Regions from separate parts of the Homo sapiens genome. Here regions 1, 2 and 4 are each linked to region 3. Evidence: promoter capture Hi-C in 16 types of primary human blood cells and fetal thymus (Javierre and others, 2016). All regions are on one chromosome and are shown on one strand. Each heading gives the region's core, a stretch centred on a gene start or on the middle of the fragment in contact. The rest is flanking DNA. Distances are from core to core; before and after follow the strand shown.

Evidence for each region. Contacts are between HindIII fragments. The CHiCAGO score rates a contact against its expected background, and 5 or more counts as called.
Region 1: a fragment that was not itself captured here is called in contact with the fragment with the promoter of GCSAM in region 3 in 1 of 17 cell types (non-activated CD4 T cells); the score reaches 5.9 in non-activated CD4 T cells.
Region 2: a fragment that was not itself captured here is called in contact with the fragment with the promoter of GCSAM in region 3 in 1 of 17 cell types (total B cells); the score reaches 5.4 in total B cells.
Region 4: a contact is called between a fragment that was not itself captured here and the fragment with the promoter of GCSAM in region 3, in 1 of 17 cell types (fetal thymus). The highest score is 5.9, in fetal thymus.

What each region holds. Positions count from the first base shown.
Region 1 is chr3:112,976,077-112,979,551 of GRCh38, forward strand. No RefSeq gene overlaps it. Among named protein-coding and RNA genes, the nearest start is that of CD200R1, 2.7 kb to the left of the region's middle. The HindIII fragment of the contact is 2,698 bases long and covers 239-2,936 here.
Region 2 is chr3:112,995,760-112,999,022 of GRCh38, forward strand. GTPBP8 (GTP binding protein 8) reads left to right here. Exons shown (of 6, transcript NM_014170.4): 4 at 1,133-1,232. Among named protein-coding and RNA genes, the nearest start is that of GTPBP8, 6.4 kb to the left of the region's middle. The HindIII fragment of the contact is 1,944 bases long and covers 826-2,769 here.
Region 3 is chr3:112,131,802-112,135,103 of GRCh38, forward strand. It overlaps GCSAM (germinal center associated signaling and motility), which reads right to left and starts at 1,447. Exons shown (of 6, transcript NM_152785.5): 1 at 1,291-1,447. The coding sequence starts at 1,319. It overlaps TBILA (TGF-beta induced lncRNA), which reads left to right and starts at 1,622. Exons shown (of 1, transcript NR_157393.1): 1 at 1,622-3,302. It also overlaps a transcript of C3orf52 not described here. RefSeq lists enhancers at 1,053-1,112, 1,593-1,772. The HindIII fragment of the contact is 3,922 bases long and covers 882-3,302 here.
Region 4 is chr3:113,015,254-113,018,926 of GRCh38, forward strand. RMP64 (ribonuclease MRP subunit p64) reads right to left here. Exons shown (of 9, transcript NM_015412.4): 2 at 2,195-2,349. Among named protein-coding and RNA genes, the nearest start is that of NEPRO-AS1, 2.4 kb to the right of the region's middle. The HindIII fragment of the contact is 1,970 bases long and covers 1,285-3,254 here.

The sequences.
Region 1 (3,475 bases), core at 338-2,837, 840 kb after region 3:
AAACCTCTTCCTTACTGTTGCTAGTTACTATGTTACTATGCTTTTAAGTTATGTCTGAGAGAGGGAAAAATCTTCTATGTGCTGAGAATTTTCTGCCCCAAGGCAAAACTGTACAGGAAGGGGAAGAAAACATTGCAAACAGGAAAAAGATTAAACAGCATGCATTTTTTTTCTCAGTTAGCAGTTTCATCTTCCTTCTTGCCAAACATTATAAATATTTCCCCCCTTCCCCTTCTCAAGCTTTTTTTTCCAGTTAATTAATTTGATGAAGACAGTGAAACCAGATCCTTGAGGGCATGGAACACTTAAGGGTATGAGCTGTGACAATGGGAAGACCAAAACAAAAATGTCTTCTCTTCTGTCTAATGTTTCACCAGGTGTCGGAAAATTAGTGAGAATACATCATTTAAAATACAGATAATATTCTGGTTTTCCACTACATAGAAGTGAAAGTTGGCCGGGAGTAGTGGCTCATGTCTGTAATCTTAGGACACTGGGAGGCCGAGGCGGGCAGATTGCCTGAGCTCAGGAGTTCGAGACCAGCCTGGGCAACATGACAAAACTCCAAACTCCATCTCTACTTAAAAAAAAAAAAAAAAATTAGCCAGGTGTGATGGCACTCATCTGTAGTCCCAGCTACTTGGGAGGCTGAGGCATGAGAATCGCTTGAACCCAGGAGGCAGAGGTTGCAGTGAGCAGAGAGAAGTTAAAGTTAAAATTCACACTCGCTTAGGATACAGATAGACATAGGGTTAAGTCTCTGTTGTGCAATTACTAGTCCAGTGATACTGGGAAAGTTTCTTACTCAAGTCTGTATCTGTTTATATTATATTGACATTAGCTTTTTCTCATGTCATCAAAAATTCTTGGAGATCATTTATTTTAATATCTGCTCAATGACATAGCCAAAACTAAACCACAGAAGGGCTAAATGGCCTGTGGCCTCAAAACAACTTATTGGCACGGCTGGGAATAAAATGTGTTATATTTCGTAGCCCTGTGTTCTTTTCACTCAACTCCTCTACTTTGAAATTTCAGGCAACAACTTTCATAGACACACTCCAATGCACTCACCTGAGGTCAGACCACAATCTGCAATCAGCAGTTTAAGAATCAAGTGATGGGTATCAAAAACCATAAAATTCACTAAATAGATTTGGCAGGATGACAGTTTCTCTCCCTGGTCCCTCATCCTCTCCACCCCCAAATCACATGCCTGTAACCTCTCAACTCCCACCTTCTACCTTTTATGGACCATGAATGTTTAAAACAATAAAGGGACTAAAAGTTTGTTAACATAATCATCCACTAAAGACATGCCATGAAAGTCAGTATAATAAGAGAAAGATGTGTCTGGTAAATACACCTCTCTAAAAAATCTAAAGGCCCCAAATTCTCCCTGGTTGCGGCCCTTGGGCACAGGACCCAGGAAGCAAAGCAAAAGAGTGAAAAAGGATCAAGAAACAGGTGTCATTCAAACCAGAAACCCAAACCTTTTACTCTACCAGTTTTCCAATTCTCCTTCAATAATACCAGTTAAGAATCATAGCATAAGAGAAACAAACAGGACAATGTAATGCCAGTTAATGTTGTAGCCAAAACAAAAAGACAGAGAAACTTTAGTAAATTAGAACTACTTTAGGCCATAATGCCCCCAAACCAGCATGGCTGGTTTACTCAATTTATCAATTGCAATAAACTGAAAATTGATGTAATAACTATAAATGTTGTTGAAGTAAACTTCTTCCAATCAGGTGTATATCTTTCTCTCCAATGTCAGATTCAGACTTAGCCACACTGAAACCATTTAAGATGAAGTGTTGCAGCCTTCCTCTTGGGATTCCTCCCCATTATGTAGAAGATTTGCATGGCTCTTGAATACTTACTGCAAAGATTCTATGGACTTTTATTCCTGACTTCTCGTTCCCGGGACCCTTTGCTCCCCAGTACCATTGCCGACTCATTCACCTCTTATATTTGAGTCTTGACTGCCGAGAACTTCAGCACCTGCCTGCCCTTCCTACCATAGCTGAATTTTCTGGATGTGCATTCTTGCAAAATGGGCCAATAACTACTTGCCTTGTCACTGTTACTTTTGGTGAACTCTCTGGCTTAGATATCTGGCCTGACTTACCCTTCTATACACTTGCATGTGTGCACACACAAACATAACACACACACACACGCTCACACAAATATGCTAGCGAAACACTTAGTCCTAATTCCCTCAATCTACTCTGTCCTACTGCTAGCCAAGTGGTAACATGCCAATTTCACAGAGGTAAAAAGAACAATACCGAATAGTCTAAAGAATTTCAAGGGACTCAAACTCTACAGCACTCCACTCTTGTCTTTACTTCCTCTCTGCTCCCTTGTACAATAACTACAGATCTGAATCTAATGAATTACCACAGAAATGCTATAATTCAACATACAGTTGCATAAAAAGACTGCTTTCCTGGGCATATTCCATTTTCTATTTTCCAATTTACCTCTCTGTAACCTTCATTGACCCATGCTCTCAAGACTCATCTGAAATCCTGTATCTTCCTCCATGGACAATCATTAAATAGACTAAACAGTAACTTAAAAGAGCCTCAAAAAATGCATACTTCTATTTTTATACCTACTATTATATTGATTTTTCTTGAAAATTTTTACTCCTAATATATGGTTGATCTACGTCAATGTATAAAAAGTCTTCTTAAAAAGTTAGAAAAAATATATCATATTGGAATTAATGATTATTTTTTATTATAATTTTACAGATTATACAAAAAGGAAAATTGAGAAATAGATGTTTGAAAATCAAATGTGTGCAGTATCAAAATAAGCAAAATCAGAGTAGAGAAATTAGTAATCACATTTTATATTTAGCTAAATATCAACTGTAAATCTCACTGGTCAGATCCATAGCAAGTATTTGTCAAGCCCTAAGCTTAACACCCTGATCTTGTTCTAAGCAGTTTATAAATATTACCTAATTTAATTATCTCAACAATCCTATATAGTAAATACCACTTACCATTGAGGAAACTCAAAGCAGAGAGGTTATGTAAATTGTCAAAAGCCACACAGCTGATAAGTGATAGAAACAGGATTCAAGCCCAAGAAATCTCACTCCAAAGTCTACTTCTTAAACTATGTGGCTAATTAGTCTCTGCTTTACTATCTACTTTTTTGAAGGTGGTAACTCTGTTTTGTCTCCAATACATCTCCCAGGTTCCTAACCCCTACTGACTCTATTTATGTACTAATTCACTCTTTCTTCCTTACCTGCTCAAAATTGGTCTGTTTTGTTTAAATAAATAAGCAAACCCTGTGCTGTTTCTAATCATCTATTTGCATTAAGATTACTCTCTGCTGCCCCCTGGAGATAATTTGGTGAAATCAATGCTAAGATTTTTGTAAATTTATCTAGCAAATTCAAAAATAGCTTCACATTAAGATTTTGATCACAAAGTATGCTAACATG
Region 2 (3,263 bases), core at 548-3,047, 860 kb after region 3:
CTCCTGACCTCAGGTGATCCACCCGCCTTGCCCTCCCAAAGTGTGAGATTACAGGCATGAACCACCGCACCTGGCCCATTAATTTTTTTTAAAACCAAACTCTTACCTGGCTAATTTTGAAAATGAAAATTGTTGGTTAAAATCAGTAAATTCTGATCATTCTTAAAATACTTCAGACATCACATTTGCTGCAAATGATATCTCTTTTTTGTCTCCTTATGTAATCAAGTGATAGTTCTAAGAATTGCACAATATATAGAAAATTGATGTTAATCTTTTGAAATGAAAAAAATGTATCTTGTTTGTTGTAGCTTTACATAAGGGGTAAAATCAAATATTTACATAAAATGCAAGATATAATGTGTCTGGTTTCTGTTATCTGTTAGTGTTAGGGTAATATTTAAAAATTCCCATATAGACCAGGCACGCCGGCTCACGCCTGTAATCTCAGCACTTTGGGAGGCCGAGGTCGGCGGATCACTTGAGGTCAGGAGTTCGAGACCAGCCTGGCAACATGGCAAAACCTCAACTCTACTAAAAATACAAAAAAAAAAAAATCAGCCAGGCATGGTGGCACATGCCTGTAATCCCAACTCCTCAGGAGACTGAGGCAGGACAATCACTCAAACCCAGGAGGCAGAGGTTAGTGAGCCAAGATTGTGCCACTGCATTCTACCCTGGGCAACAGAATGAGGCTCTGTCTAAAAAAACAAAAAAAAAAATTTATAACTTATGGTTAATTTTTTATAATTTATGGTTCCTATAATTTATAATCTGTAATTTATGGTTAATTTGATTTGTATCTCTTTCTCCTCCTCGAGTTTAAGCTTTTAGAGGAGGGAACTCACTCATTATATATCAAGTCCCAGGCAGAATGTCTTATATCCAATATATCCTTATTGATTTAAATTAATATTTAGTGAATTTAGTTATTGAAAGTAAATAGCATTGAGACCTACTGGACTGCAGGATAAACTTCTGGCAAATTGAGAATTCCTGTTGCCTAAAGAAATGTTTTAATTTTGGAATGAGAATTATTCAAAGAAGAATTTCTTAGTACAGTAAGGAAGAGGGGATAAATGAATGGGTATATTTTATATTGCCATTAATCTTCTTTTCTACATGCTTATAGCTTGAAGAGAACATTTTTATTAGTGGATAGCGTTGTTGGAATTCAAAAAACAGACAATATTGCCATAGAAATGTGTGAAGAATTTGCATTACCTTATGTGGTAAGTACTTCCTTTGAATCATGGTTGCAATTAGAAATATCAGTTCTACGTGCATCTGTGTGAACATGCACCTTTTAACAATTGAGCTTGTGTTGCCTCAAAAGATAAAGGAGAGTGCCTTTTGAATAATCTTTTCAATTAATCATCCATTAATATTAAAAGAAGTTCTATGGCACTTTTATTCTCTTTTCTGTCACTCAGCTATGTTTTGAAAATTATAGTCAAAGTAAAGGTTTCTTTAGGCTGTTCATTTAATGTTCCTAGATACTGTTCATATTTTTTTCTTTTTATGGCAACATAAACATTTGTTCAGAAAAAGTTAGTAGCTCTTTAACAGCAGCGTGGCAGATAGTACTTATAAGAATGTGAATAAAACTGCAACTTAAAAAGTTGCTTAACTAATTTAAAACTTTAAAATTGTTCCAGGAACATAGCAGCCTCCAGCACACACAAGTAGGATTTTTATATTTTTAAAGCAAACAAAATTTCTTCTGGGAATTTCTTACCAGTATTCTTGGTCTTTTGACCTAGACTAGAATACCAGAATTGTAGATTGGTATCCACATTAATTTTGCTTTGTGAGACTTCCAGAAAAAATGGCACTCTTAAAGTTTCTTTCCAAAGAAAAGTGAAGAACCCAATAACTAATTTGCTTTCAAAAAGATGTCAGCCACTAATATGTAACAGTGGAGTTTAGTACAAATCACACCAAATTACTAGTCAGCCACTTTTGTTTTATTCTTGGGGTCTTGGAATTCTTGGGGTCTGCAAAAGCCCTATGAAGCATTAGAGATGATTTATAGTTATGAGAAGTCAAAGGATTGATAGTCTGCCTAGTAAAAATGCCTAAATATTGCCAAACTAAATAATAGTATTCTTTATTTGGTATCGCAGATACTAGTTTATGAAATCATATATTTTCCTCAATTTTAACTGAAAGGAAATATTACTTTCTTCGTTGGAAAAGGAATTGGAATAGAAAAGTTATATCTGTATCTCCTTTTAAATATCAGAACATTTGCCTTTATGAGGAAAGACTCCCATTTGCGGAGGGGTTCACAAGTCATTAGAAACCACACACTTTCTGCTTCTCACTGTGGGAAAAACACTGGAACCATGTTTTTCCTCTGCTCTCATACCACAACAATTAACACAGAAGACTTCTGTGGCTAAATGTGTAGGGGTTTTTGTCTTCACCAACAACCAGTGGACACAATCCCACAGATTGAGGATTCAGTCCCCAAGACGACTCCTCCCACCCGGCTTCAGACACTAGTCACAATTTTGGGCCTCTAGAATATCTAGACTGGCTTCAAGTTGGGGTTCCAACTACCCCCTCTTTGGGTTTAATTGCTGGAGTGGCTCACAGAACTCAGGGAAACATGTTTTCTGATGGTATTATAAAGTATATTACAAAGGATATAATGAAGATGCACAGAACCTCCATGTCCTCCTTGGGCATGCCACCCTTTGGAAACCTACCTGTGTTCAGCTATTTGGAAGCTCTCCAAACCCAGTCTTCCTGGGCTTTTATGGAAGCTTCATAACATCAGCATCCCTTCCCCCAGGGTATGAGGTGGGACCCTCTCTGGAATGAGGGTCATATGACCACAATCAGAAAGGTGAGAGAAGATTACAAGTCTTGTCTTGGAGCAGGTGAATGGAAGGCAGGAGGTCAGAGAGATTTTGTTTCCTGATGCCTAACATATCCAACATTATAACAAATGATCGTAACAAGGGCTATGGGAGTTATGAGAAAGGAACCATGGACATAAACCAATATATGTATCATGACACCACACTCCTGCCATTAGCATCTTTTATGACTAAAAAGCATGATTTGCCAGGAAATTTAATTTTACAGAAACTCACCAGGAATATCTGGTGGATTAAGGTTTTATTTTTAATTGATTTTTGTAATAATCACCCATACTTTGACCTTTCTGCACTATGTTACTTGTCTCTGGACAAGTAGAATTCTGGACTTACTTGGAATATAACTAGTAGATAGAACCTACAAATAGCCTGATT
Region 3 (3,302 bases), core at 197-2,696:
TAAGCATGAATGCAATGGCAGAAACCAAAAAGCTTTCTAGATTTAAAATCGAATTTTCTTTAAAATAAATAAAAAACCATAAGAAGTCCAAATAGCATAAGATGTGTGCACCTTGGAAAAAGGTTTTTTTTCTTACATAAAACAAAATTTTAAAGTAAAAAAATTTTTTTAAAGTTTTTTTGCACTTATTCAGTGCACGTGATATGCCAGAAACAATGCCAGGAACCAGGAATTCAAAGATAAATAAGAAACAATCACTACATTTGAGCATCTCATATCTAGTAATAAAAATAGTAATTTATATAATTGTTAGAACAATGCTAGAGTAGAAGATTGACAAGGGGCTGTGACAACCCAGGGTAGAGAAGTCTCAGACAACATGATTCTTAGGAAGGGACATGAGATATTCCACAGGACCACCAATCCTCTTTTCGGCAAGTGGTCAAAAGTGGGCTACCATTTTTTCCTGTGTTCCACTCTCCAGTAGCATGAACTGAGACCAGGGATTCCAAACATAACCCTGTGAAGACCCCCTCTGGCTCGCTTACTCTCTCTAGATCACCCCACTTTATACCCTAGAGATTACCTTGTCTGTGGTGGCACTATTTTGGTGGCACGGCTTTGATATTAAGGAAGATGATGGTCAGAAAAAGAAAGCAGAAAATATCTTCTAATTTTGAACCCTACTTTATGTCAGGCACTATGCTAGCACAATACACACTAGAACTCTCTAAGGTAGATATTGTATTATTATTTCTACTTAAAATAAAGAGGCTGAGGTCCAGAAAGTAAATCTGAGTTCTGTGCCTATTTAATCTAGATGACCTCTGCTTACCTGCTTGCAGGGAGTGCACATCAAAGGAAGACTCAAGGTGGCAGGAAGCTTGCTGTTTATTTCAAACTTAAAATAGTGGCTGAAAGAGGGTGGTGATTTTGACCTCCTTGTGGAGCATGAGGAGCTCAGGAGAGCATCTCCTTCCCGGGCTTTCAGAAAGTTGTTTCATTTCTTAGGTGGTAACCTATTATATAGACCTTCCTTGGTAAAGTCTTTCCACCTTTCAGCTATTCTCCATCAGCTGCTCACCATGATTCTTGGGAGAAGGCAAAACCTATGGGAAATTTAATGTGGTATCTGGCACAGAGTAGGCACTGAAGGCTTGGCAGTTTCCTTACCCAACTACTTTCTACCCCAACTTAGTGTGCTAACTGTATACTAGCTTTCTTTTTCTCTTCCTTGCTGTATTGTCCTGTCCCATCTCCTCTGCTCTCCCACAGGGAGTCTAGACTTACCTGTTTTCTCTCAGCAGAGAATTTCCCATCCTCTCAGTCCTCTCAGGGCTTCCCCTCCGTCCCTTTACCACTTCCTTCTTGCCTTGTGCTCTGACAGGGCAACTCCTGACTTAAAGAAAGGGCTGTGTGGCTCTGGCCACCCGTGCAGAGACAGCAGAAAGGAGAAGGGTGTCTCTGCAGAGGGAAGGAAGAGGCTGGGGGAGGAGTGTTAGAGGCACGCATGTGCAGAATGTCCTAACATGTCAGTGCCTGAACCAACCTGGCTGTTGGCCATAACCAGCAACTACCCGTCAATGAGAGCTTCGAACCTCTGGGGAATCCCAGGTCTGAAATTACAGATGGGCCATGGGAGTTTTTCCACTACAGATATTTACGTTTATAAATCACGTTGTCTTCTTAGAAAAGTCAGAAGGAGGTTAAAACAGTCAAGCCACAGACCTGTAGAAAATATAGTATCAACAACTCTCAAATCTGAAAACAAACACCCAGTAACAAAATGGGCAAAATATTTGAACAGACATTTCACCAAAGGAACTATACAGATGAACATTAAAAGATGCTAAACATTGTAGTTATTAGGGAAGTGTAAATCAAATCCACAATGGAACACTTTTACATACTTATTACAATGGCTATAAAACCCTGACAATATCAAGTATGGCAAGGTATGCAAAGCAACTGGAAGTCTCATGCATTGCTGATGAGAATGCAAAATGACAGCCTTTTTGGAAAGAAGTGATAAGGACAGAAGGCAGGGCTTTACTGGGTAGAAGAGGGTGGTTCACTGGCAAAGGTCCCACCCTCAAGCCTTGAAACCGAAGCCCTAAATGAGAACAGTTATCCCTGTTATCCTGCCCAAATGTTACTCTTTAGCCTGTCCAGCCCCCCTATCCCGTGCCCATATAAACCCCAGACCTCAGCTGGCAGACAGACAAGCGGCTGAACATCAAGAGGAGAAGAAGCAACTGAGTGTCAGAGATGTGGCTTAACTTCAGGTGGCATGACTTCAGGGAGGAGCCCGGCCAGAGACAGCAGACTTCAGGGAAAGGTCACTTTCTTCCTGCACCATCCCCTTTGCAGCTCCCCTTCCACTGAGAGCCACTTCCACCATTTAATAAAATCGTCCACATCCATCAACTTTCAAACCATTCATGCAACCTGATTCTTCCTGGATGCTGAACAAGAACCTGGGTACCAACAGGGCAGGGTGTAAAAGGCTGCCACCCTGACTCTCCATTGAGTGGGTTAACACTTAGCTGTCCACGGATGGCAACTGCTAAAAGAGCATGAATTGTAACACATCCCTAAATGCTGCTGTTGGGCTGGAGCCCAAAAGTGCTCATCGAAGCCCTGGCACCCGCTTGCCTGCGTGCTCCCGCTCCCACAGAGAGTTTGAGCATGGTGGTGGCCAAGTAAGTAGGCCACACCCCTGTCGCAAGTCCCGAGAAGGGGTCAAGGGAACTCTCCCATCTCAGAAGTATGGCAATTTCTTATAAAATTGAACATAGGGTTACTGTACAACCTGGCAATTTCACTCCTAGGCATTTAGCCAAGTGAAACTTATGTCCTCTAAGACTGTGTGTACAAATTTTTATATGTGCTTTACTCATAATAGCCGAAATACCCTGGAAATAGCCCAACTGATCTTCATTGAGTGAATTGCTAAATAAGCTCTGTGTTATATTACATCCACACAACAGAATCCTGACCATCATTGAAAAGGAGTGGACTATTAATACATGCAATAACTTGGATCAATCTCAAATGCATTACACTAAGTGAAAGAGACCAGACTTAAAGCCTACCTTCTGTGACATTAGAGATAAGGTGAAACCACAGGAACAGAAAACATATTAGTGTTGCCAGGAGCAAAAGGTGGGGGAGGTGTTGACTTTCAAAGCACAGGAGGAAATTTTTTGTTGTTGTTCTTTATCTTGATTGTGTTAGTGCCCACATGACTGTATGCATTTCTCATAATTCACAGAACTGTATACTAATAAGGGTGCACTTCA
Region 4 (3,673 bases), core at 1,020-3,519, 880 kb after region 3:
CTTACTGAACACTGTTCTAAGAACTGGATTATGGTGGTAAACAAAAGGGACAAAATACATTGCCCTTGTGGAGCTTACATTATAGCTGGGAGAGAAAGGCAGTCAATCAATGGCAGGTGGTGTTAAGTGCTATGAAGACAAATAAGGCAGAGAGGGAGTGCTGAGAAGATTGCAATTTTAAATAGGGTCTGTTTTTATTTTAGCATTTAATTAAATATTTTACATGTCTTCCTATTTTTACTACTAGATTTTTAGCAACTAGAGATAGGGAAGTTTCTAATACCACTTTATCTGCCAGCATGCCCTACATGTACTCCACAGAACAGGAATCAAAACTACTTTCTGTGTTCCATTTAGGGGAATGTTTAGAGACAGGCCAATTCTAGTACTTACATGAAAGTTCTCTGAAAACTGTGAAATATTAAGCAGTTGTAAGGCAGTAGTAGAAGTGGTAATAGCAGCTGCAGCAGTAACATAAGCATAAAACATGTTTCCTACTTCAGGGATCACATGGAATATAAAATATATACACAAATAACTTTACCATGACACAGACTATATTAAATGCTATAAGTACAAAGAGGAGGCCCAAATAGCCAAGAATTTAAAAAAAAAAAAAAAAAAGCAACTTCAGTAATAATCAGAAAAATACAACTTAAAATGAGATTACTATAACACAGATTATCACTGCCAGAAAGGCTTAAAATGGGACTTAGAGGATAGGAAGGCCTTTAACAGGCAGACATGGTGAGGCTGGGCATTCTAAACATACAGGACCAGGTAAGCAGACTCAGAAGCAGGAACAAACATAGTGAGCATGCAGGTGTGTTGAGTCCAGGTTGGCTGGAATATAATCTATCTGAACGCAAGAGAGAAGCCCGAACTAAGAAGACTGAAGAGGCCAGATCACAGATCTCGTAAGCCAAACTAAGAAGTTTGGTCTTTACTCAGGACACAATGGAGAACGACTAAAAATCAAAGTTGTGTTTTCAGATGATTAACCTGGTTTTAATATTTAGAATATGCCAGAACTTAGGAAAAGCTGAAGGAGGAAACATCAGTTATGATAGTAAGACAACTAAAAGTTGACAAGGTCTAAGAAAGGAAAATGGCAGCCAGAACTGAAGAGGGGACCAGATGCAGAGGAAGTTTTGTCTTATGGACTGCCTGGATGGGAGAGCTACGTAAGAGAGAGAGACTAGAGAATGCCAAATTTTGATGACGGGGTGATTATTCACAACCCAGAAGCTAGAAGGAGAAATATATTCACTTTGAGGGTTAGCAAGCTTGCTTTTGGATCAAAAAGACTCCGAAAAAGATAAAAGCCACCCTAGAATGGAAAATTTAGGGAAAGACCATGGTCCCAGATCTTTCTTTGATGAAATCTTCACCCTGTTTGCTTTAAGTACTAGGGGTAGAAAACTAACCAGAAAGCATGCATCTATAAGGTTAGAGACTGTGTCTACCTTTTTCACTCCTCTATACACAGCACTAAGCAGAATGCCTGGCACACAGAAAGTTCAAAAACACTTGCAAGGTAGCCCTGTCACACAATGGATAGCCTTCTGAACTTCCAGAAAATACTTGCAGAATTAAGTGAATGAATGAATGAGCATATCAGGAAGCCAGCTTAAGAGAGGCTCTACTCTATGGTATAGCCCCTGAGCTGGAGGGCCCAATTTTGTCTTAAGCTCCAAACATTACATGAAACCAGTTTACACCACAACTTGCTATGTACCCATTTACTCTAACATACCACCAATTAGATTATGTACCCCATAATAAGTAGACAAGTTTTTTTAAAAATAATTTTAGCATTCTGATTATGCCCAGGGAACTGTTTCTTAATGTCCAACATTTTGTCTTGCTCAAATCACTTTATCTTTGAGCTGGGCAAAGGCACTGTTGTTATAGATTGTATATAATGAAGAAAATGTTTACTTGCCTATTAGAAACAAGACTGGGAAAGAATCTAAACATACTTCTTTTCTAACAAAAATTACTTTTTGAAATGCTGAAATGCTTTTAGGAAAAAAAAAGAAAGTGCACATGTAACTGTGGGCTATAGGCCTATAAAACACAAGTAATTTACTGAGATTTCCACGAGATTTCCATAAATAGCAATATAGTAAGTGGCAGTGTGATCTACATTTTCAAGTGAACAGGTTGGGTCTCACCTACCGGGCTTCCTCACCTGTTTGAGGGCCAAATGGGGTTTGTGGCGGCCCATTCTGTTGTGATTGCTGTAAAGGACTGCACATAACACATCTGTTTCTGCATCTAAGGTTTGGCTCTTCAGCGACAGTATGACGAGATGGCATTCTTTAATTACAGCTGCAATGCAAAGGTCTGAAGCAGAGACATCTAATAAGATTTAGTATGTATTTCTACAGTAAGTATATTATATTAAAAACACACTAAAAAAAGCATCTTTCCTTATTTGTTTTAAAGGAATCAAAAACTAATGTAATCAGTCTCAACTGTAAGAACGTAAGGATTCTAAGTATAAGAGAAGTTGGAAAATGGTAACAGATGATATAAAGTCCAGGAAATCATTAAGAGAACATCTGTAAAACAAGAAGCTGTATCTTTGCATTGCATTTTATCATGGTTTAATAATCTTTCATATGAATACTTTGCTGTCAGTCATTTGGTGTACACTTACGCCTCATGTGTACACTTAACCCCCACCTTGAAGGTAGGGCACATGTCACAACATGTGTAATAACTCTCTAACTCCCCATGTCGCTATGCCCGAAAGCAAGACAGAATGAATAAATTCACAGTCTTCAAAATCAAGGCTTCTGTGTTTGGATATCACTTTATGAGAGACACAAACATATTCAGAAAAGAAAAACCACCACAGTAACTGGAAATCGTATTATTTGATGAACACCGGGTGCTCATCAGCAGATGCTTCCTAGTCTGAAAATCTGTAGAAGTCCCTAAGATGTAGTTCATGTGTTATTTATGGCTCTAAAGGCAGCACTAGCATTCTAAATGGAAGTAAAGGCTGGTTGCTACCTAACAAGAATTTTCTTACTGTCCCAACAACTACCTGAAGACAGAATGGGCTGCCTCGGGGATGGGTAGTGAGTTGGTGAATTTCCCAGGCCTAATAGGAGTTGTTAAAGAATTTTTGAATAGAGAAAGAGGGAAGATTAATCTGTAAAGTGTGTAGGAAGGATAGATGGGATAATCTGTAAAGTGTGTAGGATGGATATATGGGAAAGGGGATGTGATGATCTAAGTCAAGCTTGTCCAACCCGCCTTATTTTGTTGTTCTGTTCTGTTTTGTTTTAGGCTTTTTGCAGCTTAAAGCCATGGTTTTTAGTTTGTCTCTAGTGAAAAGAGGGATGAGGAAAGGGCTTTACCAGCCCAACCGGAAACAAAGAACCCATGACTGTATTCTCTCCCTTGGGCCCCGGAGCTACGTATTTAATATTCATAACAGCTTCCATTTGAGTGTTCATTTACCATGCCAGGCAGTGTTCCAAATGCTTTCTCTACATTATCAACTCTTTCATCCCCCCAAACAGCCCTATGAGGAAGGTGCTTTTATCTCCATTTGAAAGTGAGATCAGTGAGGCACAGAAAGGTTCAATGACTCCTTCAAGCTCCAGCAAAGGGTAGAGCTAGTATTCAAACCCAAACAACCTGGCTCCTGCGCCAG